Linked DNA regions of Homo sapiens: region 1 is linked to region 2. The links are contacts of gene promoters, found by promoter capture Hi-C in human tissues and cell types (Jung and others, 2019). All regions are on one chromosome and are shown on one strand. The core of a region is centred on a gene start or on the middle of the fragment in contact, and the rest is flanking DNA. Distances in the headings are between cores, read along the strand shown. Region 1 overlaps NRDE2 (NRDE-2, necessary for RNA interference, domain containing). Region 2 holds the start of PSMC1 (proteasome 26S subunit, ATPase 1).

What was found. Contacts are between HindIII fragments. The study calls those that stand out against the background at their distance.
Region 1: a contact is called between a fragment that was not itself captured here and the fragment with the promoter of PSMC1 in region 2, in 1 of the 25 tissues and cell types used here (pancreas).

Annotation. Positions count from the first base shown.
Region 1 is chr14:90,313,579-90,317,392 of GRCh38, reverse strand. NRDE2 (NRDE-2, necessary for RNA interference, domain containing) reads left to right here. Exons shown (of 14, transcript NM_017970.4): 3 at 582-815. Among named protein-coding and RNA genes, the nearest start is that of NRDE2, 16 kb to the left of the region's middle. The HindIII fragment of the contact is 3,189 bases long and covers 746-3,814 here.
Region 2 is chr14:90,254,028-90,257,967 of GRCh38, reverse strand. It overlaps PSMC1 (proteasome 26S subunit, ATPase 1), which reads right to left and starts at 1,415. Exons shown (of 11, transcript NM_002802.3): 1 at 1,368-1,415. The coding sequence starts at 1,370. RefSeq lists enhancers at 712-1,239, 1,125-1,364, 1,240-1,769. The HindIII fragment of the contact is 25,675 bases long and covers 1-3,940 here.

The sequences.
Region 1 (3,814 bases), core at 1,091-3,590, 58 kb before region 2:
AGCTCATTGTCATCTCCAAAAACAAGGACCACAATTAAATGTTTTGGTTTTTTTATTAACAACATGTTGACATAATATGTGGCACTGAAAATAAACCTTTTTATAATGATTTTTTTTGAAAATTATTATTATTATTTTTAAAATAAAGATGAGGTCTTGCTACGTTGCCCAGGCTTGTCTCAAACTCCCAAGCACCTTCAGCAGTCCTCTTGCCTTGGCCTCCCAAAGTGCTAGGATTATAGGCATGAGTAACCACACCCAGCCAACCTTTAATAATGTCTTAAAAATACTATATTTGTTAAGTGGTAGGTTACTTTCATTTAAAGATGTATAAATAAGAAAGTATAGGTTTAGAAACTATTAAAATTGGAATTTCTTCACCTGTTATTATTTTAGATCCAATTCCTAAGTCTTGCAGGTGAGGTGTAATCCAGTAAGTTACTGTGTAATATATGGGCAAATAGTAAATCTGTGTGAACATTTATATAGTTCCATCTTAAATATTTGTTGACTTATTTACATAGTATTATTTTTCCTACATCTTTTTAGAAAGTAATTTTAAAGTTGATTTTCCCAAACAGGAGTCATCTGAAATCAGAGTCTTCAGATGAAAGTGACACTAACAAAAAGCTCAAACAAACAAGTAGAAAAAAGAAGAAAGAGAAAAAGAAAAAAAGGAAGCATCAGCATCATAAGAAAACAAAGAGGAAGCATGGGCCGTCGAGTAGCAGCAGGTCTGAGACAGACACCGATTCTGAAAAGGACAAACCTTCCAGAGGCGTTGGAGGCAGTAAAAAGGAATCTGAGGAACCGAAGTAGGTTGCTGTTCTCAAGCACCTATGATATTTTAAGTCTTGAGTTTTTCTCCCTTAATTGTTGCCGCAAATTAGATATTTGAATAACCATTTAGTCACTCAGTCGGAAGAGAGCTCTACCATTATATCAGCTTAAAAAAGAGAAGGAGAAAAATTAGGGACACGATTTTATTTGAGAAATGTTATTTAGACACAGTAATGATTGTGTGAATCTCTTTTAGACAAAAAGTCTTTGGGATTTTCAAAAGATGGCAGATGTGCCACAGTGGGTCTGTGAGTCAGTGCCGTTATCACATAGATAACGGTTCCCTCTCTGAGGGCCGTGGGTCTCCACACTCTGGGTAGGAGAAACATCTTCTTTCTCTGCCTTGATATATCTTTCATTCAGTCACTCCTATCAACTCCTGTGTGTATACATGATCACACACACTTTAAGATTAACGTAGCACTTAAATAATTGTTACATTTGTCCTTTTCCTTTTCTTTTTCATATTTGTTTAAGACCACTATGTCGAAGGCAGTGGAAAACAGCTCATGATTACAGTGTTTCCATTCCTTGGGGGCTTTATTTCTCCCATATTTTACTCTGCTTTCTTTCTTTTTTTTTTTTTTTTTTTTTTGAGACGGGGTTTCACTCCAGTTGCCCACGCTGGAGTGCAGTGGTGCGATCTCAGCTCACCACAACCTTTACCTCCTGGGTTCAGGCGATTGTCCTGCCTCAGCCTCCCGAGTAGCTGGGATTACAGGCGTCTGCCACCACGCCTGGCTAATTTTTTGTATTTTTAGTAGAGATGGCATTTCACCATGTTGGCCAGGCAGGTCTTGAACTCCTGACCTCAGGTGATCCACCTGCCTCAGCCTCCCAAAGTGCTGGGATTACAGGCATGAGCCACTGTGGCCTACTCTGCTTTCTACCTTGAGCATATTGTTCAATTCATTCTACAGAATGGCCACAGCATAGGTGCTCAATACAGCCTTTTCTCTGTGCCTAGTTGAATGTCTTCCTAAGTAGAGGGGTATTTGCGTGTAGGTGGGACAGGTGGTATATGGTGAAACTACCTGAATTATTGCTCATTTAACTTTCTCCTTTATTTGCTCATATGGTCTAGAAGGGAGAAAACTTAGGTACCTGTCTAGAACATCTCTAAAAAAGAAATAGTGCTGTTGAGGTTTTTGCAACTCTTCAGGAATTTTTGTTTCCTTTTTTTAGACAGAGTCTCATTCTATCACCCAGGCTGGAGTGCAGTGGTACGATCTTGCCTCACTGCAACCTCCGCCTCCCGGGTTCAAGCGATTCTCATGCCTCAGCCTCCCAAGTAGCTGGGACTACAGGCATGCATCACCACACCCAGCTAATTTTTGTAACCCAAGCTTTTTTTTTTTTTTTTTTTTTTTTTTTTTGAGACAGAGTATTGCTCTGTCGGCCAGGCTGGAGTACAGTGGCACGATCTCGGCTCACTGCAACCTCTGCCTCCCGGGCTCAAGCAAGTCTCCTGCCTCAGCCTCCCAAGTAGCTAGGATTACAGGCATGTGCCACCACGCCCGGCTAATTTTTGTGTTTTTAGTAGAGACGGGGTTTTTCCATGTTGGCCAGGCTGGTCTCGATCTCCGATCTCCTGACCTCAGGTAATCCACCCGCCTCTGCCTCCCAAAGTGCTGGGATTACAGCCATGAGCCACCGCACCCAGCCCCCAAGCTTGCTCTTTAGAGGAAAAAATAAAGCAGTCCGGCAAAAAGGTTCTGAATTTGACTGAATTTTTGAGGGTAGGAATCAGGCCTGTCTTGCTTACCACCATATTCCCACAGCACGTGGTGCACAGGGCCCATTACAGAGTAAGCACTGAATTTGTTTTTGTTACATGAATGAATGAATATGTTATTGGTGTCCTTACCTTTTACTGTGTCTTTAAAGCAAGCTACTTTAATTGTTACGTCTTCCCAAAACTCAACTTCTAGCTACTTGTCCTTTTTTATAGCTGGGGAAAATGAGTTTTAAAGGATTTCCTGAAACCACACAGGAACTATCTTTAGAACTTGAAGGATAGTTAATTTCAGCCTATGCTTAATCATGTCAGGGAATCTTTACAGCCTCTTGATAGTTTTATGATCCAGATAGCATTTTTAAGTTTATTGATATTTTATAGAATATCCTTATTAAGATTGTTCTTGTCCTTCTCTTTTACTGTCTTGTTATTAACTTATGTATTCTCTTCCCAAGAAGGTGACCTGGAAGAATTATTTATTTCCACATAGACAAGGACTACAATATTAGTGAATTGTGAGAGTCTTTCTGTGATGTCAGGAAAGTGGGTTCGTGAGGGTAGCAGACCCTATGAGACTCTGTTTCAGGGTGATGACAAATGACTTCCCCAGAGGCCACAGCTACTAATTGACCTTGAGTTTCTGGGATGAGCTTTCCCTCACCTTCAGGTGGAGGCAGCTCCTTCCTTGCACACAGCCCAGACTACCATATCCTGCTTCCTTAGCTCAGTACCGCCGAGGGGAGAGGAAAGGGCCTGTTGACTCCTCAGGGGCGGTCTGCAGCTGGCTTCTCCTTTTTTTCTCCCAGTTGGCTTTCCATTTATTTCTCAAATGCATCAATCAGTTTGCAGTAGGCTCTCCATCTTTTCATTGCCCGTTATGGTTTTTGTAGACAGGAAGCCCTCTGCAGTTGGGAAATGTGTTAAAATCTCCATACATTAACCTGAGGCTCATCATTCAACAACTATTTATTGAATAGCTACTTAGTGTTCCTGAAATGCCATTCCCTTATATTCCCTGCCAAGAATAATTAAGAAGCCTCCAAAATCTTTATTTGTACCTGGGCAGAGCTGAAAAGCAGAGATGGAACAACAGTTAATGGCTGTTTTGACTACTTTGTCACCTTCTTGTGTCAGCAGCATTATGAACTGATTTTCTTTAGAGGAAGAAGATGTTAGATGCCAGAGAAACCTTCCCTCCCTCTCACTTAACGCCCCGGGAGTGGTTCCTTTTGGATC
Region 2 (3,940 bases), core at 166-2,665:
AATAAATGAGAAAATGCTGGAAAAGTACTTGGTACATGCTTAGAATACTACCCAGAAATCCGTATAAGACCTCTATGAGGCCGGGCGCGGTGGCTCACGCCTGTAATCCCAACACTTTGGGAGGCCGAGGCGGGCGGATCATAAGGTCAGGAGTTCAGGACCAGCCTGGCCAACAGAGTGAAACGCCGTCTCTACAAAAATACAAAAATTAGCCGGGCGTAGTGGCGGGCGCCTATAGTCGCAGCTACTTGGAAGGCTAAGGCAGGAGAATCGCTTGAACCCGGGAGGCGGAGATCGCGCCACTGCACTCCAGCCTGGACGACAGACCAAGACTCCGTCTCAAAAAAATAAAAATTAAAATTAAAATAAAAAAGACCTCTATGAGATCTGGCCTTCTTGCCGTTCATGATACAGGTTAAACATTCCCATCTCAGGTCCTTTGCACTTGCTGTATCTTCTGCCTTGACCACATTTCCCTCAGACATCTGCAGGGGTTACTCCCTCAATTTCGGTCCGCTCAAATTTCACCTCCTCAGAGCTACCTTCGCTGACTCTATAAAAAGCAGCCACTCCTCCAAGCTATCCCTTTCTATACAATAACCATACAACAATGACCACCCCACCCCTGACATCATATTACATATTTCTGATGATTGTCTGCCTTCTGCTCTAGAATGTACGCACTATGAAGGCAGGGACTTCAATCAATCCTCAGTGTCTACAACAGAAGCTAGCCAAAAGTTTAACAACAACAACAAAACACCAAGTGCTCAGTAAATACTTGTTTAGTGAATTGATGAATAAATGCTAGCTGTTTTTATTATTACTACTGCACCACGGGCCCTTTCCGTCTTAGCTCCGCCTGTCATAACAACGTCTTTAAGGCCTCCTTCAAATGCCCCCAGCTCCGAAAGGCCTTCCACGACTCCGCGCTCAACTCCTCAGGTGGAATGAATCCCACCCTCTTCTCCAGCACCCTTCACCTGCCCGACTCAAAAAGCATTTTTCCCGGTGACTCGAGGAGGCGCCCCCGAAACTCCCAGCGCCGATCAGCAAAGCCCTGGTCGGCGGAGCAGCAAAGCCAGCGGCCTGATCCGTTCTGCCGCCCCACAAGACCACGCAGGAGACCCTCTCTCTGCTCTGAGCCCCGGCCCCAGGATCCCCGGGCAAGGCCCGTTGGTCGGCCCCGGCCCGCGGTGGACATGAGCGCGGTCTCTGGGAGCCTCCACCCGCCGAGAAGATCAGGCCGGCAAAAGGAGAAGAGGGCTGTCCCAGTTCCTCGGGCAGCCGCCTCTTTCTCTCGCCTCAGGCTGCTGAGACCCCATCGCACCGCGACGACCAGCGGAAAGAAACCCTTAGTCACTCACCATCTTGCCTTGGCCACTTGAGCTGCCGCTGCCGGAAGTTCCTCCACCACTGCGGCCCGCCAGAGGCGGAAGTCGTTAGGGACGCTACGGAAGCTGATAGGAACCAAATTCTGCGCTGACCAAGTTGTGCTCCAAGGGCTTGTGCGGGCGGTCTAGGGCAACGCAGCAGTTTATAAGCATAAAGTGAACTTTATAAATATTTTACTTGAAAGAAATTTTTGAATACCCGTTATGAGGCGCTTGTCAACAACTTAAGACAATGACCCCTACTGTCAAAGAATTAGGACAATCGTGAAAATATAAAATATTTAAATTATGCAAAATTTATAACTGGGAAGAACTTTATGGTTCTAAAAACTGGAATGGTATTTGGAACTGGGAAGTTGACATATACATTTGCACAAATATTTCAGTTATTATTCAGCTTCTGGAATTTAACCTGCACATCTGGGAGTATGTGTGTAACGAGTCTTCTAAACCTGTCTTTTTCTGATGACCTGTGACTTGTGATGATGCCAAATGTCTTAAATTCCTCATCTTGAAGCTGATTGGTAAAGTTCCTCATTTGTTACACCCTCCAGGACATCAGAAAAATGGCAACAATCCCTTCTGTTTCTGGAAATTTCATTAACAAGTGCTCAAAATACTGCATCTTTCTGAACTGGAGAAATGGATGATTTTTTTTCTGCTCCAGATTGATTTAGGGATTTTAGTTGTGAAACACTAAAAATATTTCCCTTATGAACACACAACAGGTATACTTCTTCCTTTTCATCATCACTGCAACACGGTAATAGAAAGTCTTAGCACTATCGACCTCTGTTAACAAATCTGGCATCTAGTGTACATGACACATGAAATCACACGATAGGACAGTATCACACATAGGATAGAGATGGTGAAACTCCCATCTCTACTAAAAATACAAAAATTAGTCGGGCATCATCGTGGGCATCTGTAATCCCAGCTGCTTGGGAGGTCGAGTCATGAGAATCTCTCGAACCTGGGAGGCGACGGTTGCAGTGAGATCACGCCCCTGCACTCCAGTCTAGGTGACAGAGCGAGACTCTGTCTCAAAAAAAAAAATTAATAAAAATTTAAAAAACAAAATAAATATCCTTTCCCTAATGCATTTTACAAGAAACAAGTAAATAGTAAAATATATAGTATGCCACATAGTGGTAAATGCCATAGGAAAAATTAATGCCTAGGAAAAATGCCTAGGATTAGGAGCATGCAGCAGTGGTGGGTGATTTTAACTTTAAATTGGATGATACTTGAGCAAAAGCCCGTAAGGCATGAAGGAGTAAGCTATTCAGATATCTGGTGGAAGAGCTTTCTAGGTAGAGGGAACAGCCAGGGCAGAGGCCCTGCAGTAGAAGCTGCAGAGGATGGAGATTAGAGACACCATATAGTGAAGAAGTCAGAAACAGGCACATAACTCCCAGTGGAAGCTCAGCGGTTAAAGGCGAGTCAATAGAACCCAGTAATGAAGAGAGTAGCCAACGTTGGCATCAGACTTTCCTATTGTGGCTGTAGGAAGTGACATAAAGTAAGCAGAAAATTTAAGTTTATCTACATAATGGACAGCTAAGAGAAAGCAGGGAGAGGATTAGAAAGACTACTTGGAGTGCTCAGCACTTGGGGAGGTTGGAAGTTGCAAGTGGAAAAGAGGGAGAGTTGCAGAGATGACTGTCAACCGGGTGGGGAGGATTGAGAGTCAGCCATAGGGCAAAAGAGATGCACAGGGGCTGGGCGCCGTGGCTCACGCCTGTAATCCCAGCACTTTGGGAGGCCGAGGCGGGTGGATCACCTGAGTTCAGGAGTTCAAGACCAACCTGACCAATATGGTGAAACCTCATGTCTACTGAAAATACAAAAATTAGCTGGGAGTGGTGGCAGATGCCTGTAATCTCAGGTACTCGGGAGGCTGAAACGGGACAATCGCTTGAACCTGGGAGGCGGAGGTTGCAGTTAGCCGAGATTGCGCCATTGCACTCCAGCCGGGGCGAAAAGAAGGAAAATCCATCTCAAAAAGAAAAAAAAAGAAAGTGACCATAAATGTAGTGCTCAAAGCTAGAAGGTCTCTGGGTTAGAAGTTCAACTTGGGTCTCACAGGGCTAAAATCAAGATACCAACAGGTTTCCTCTCCGGAGGCTCTGCTCTAGCTGTGTGACATCAGCAAGTCATCCTCATTTTCTCATCTGTATAACGGGATAATTATCTACCTTGCCGGCTGAGGATACGGAGAGGATAAAACTCTTGTTTTTTGATTCTTAAGAGATTTTTGCCAAAAGTAGATGGAATGGAGGCTGAGGTAGGAAGGTGTCCAAACGTGGACGGAGGGCTCATGCTAGGGTGGACAGAGGGGGCGGGGCCGGGGTGGACAGAGGGCAGGTGCCAGAGGCGAGCGTGCATCCTGTTCAGCAGCCCCCCTGCAACCTCAAGCACATCAGAACCAGCCCAGATGCTGACAAAATGCAGACTCTGGTGCCATCCGCCAGAGACTGTGATTCTATAGGCCCATGGCAGGGCCCAGACACCTGCATTTTAACAGATACCCCAAGGGATTC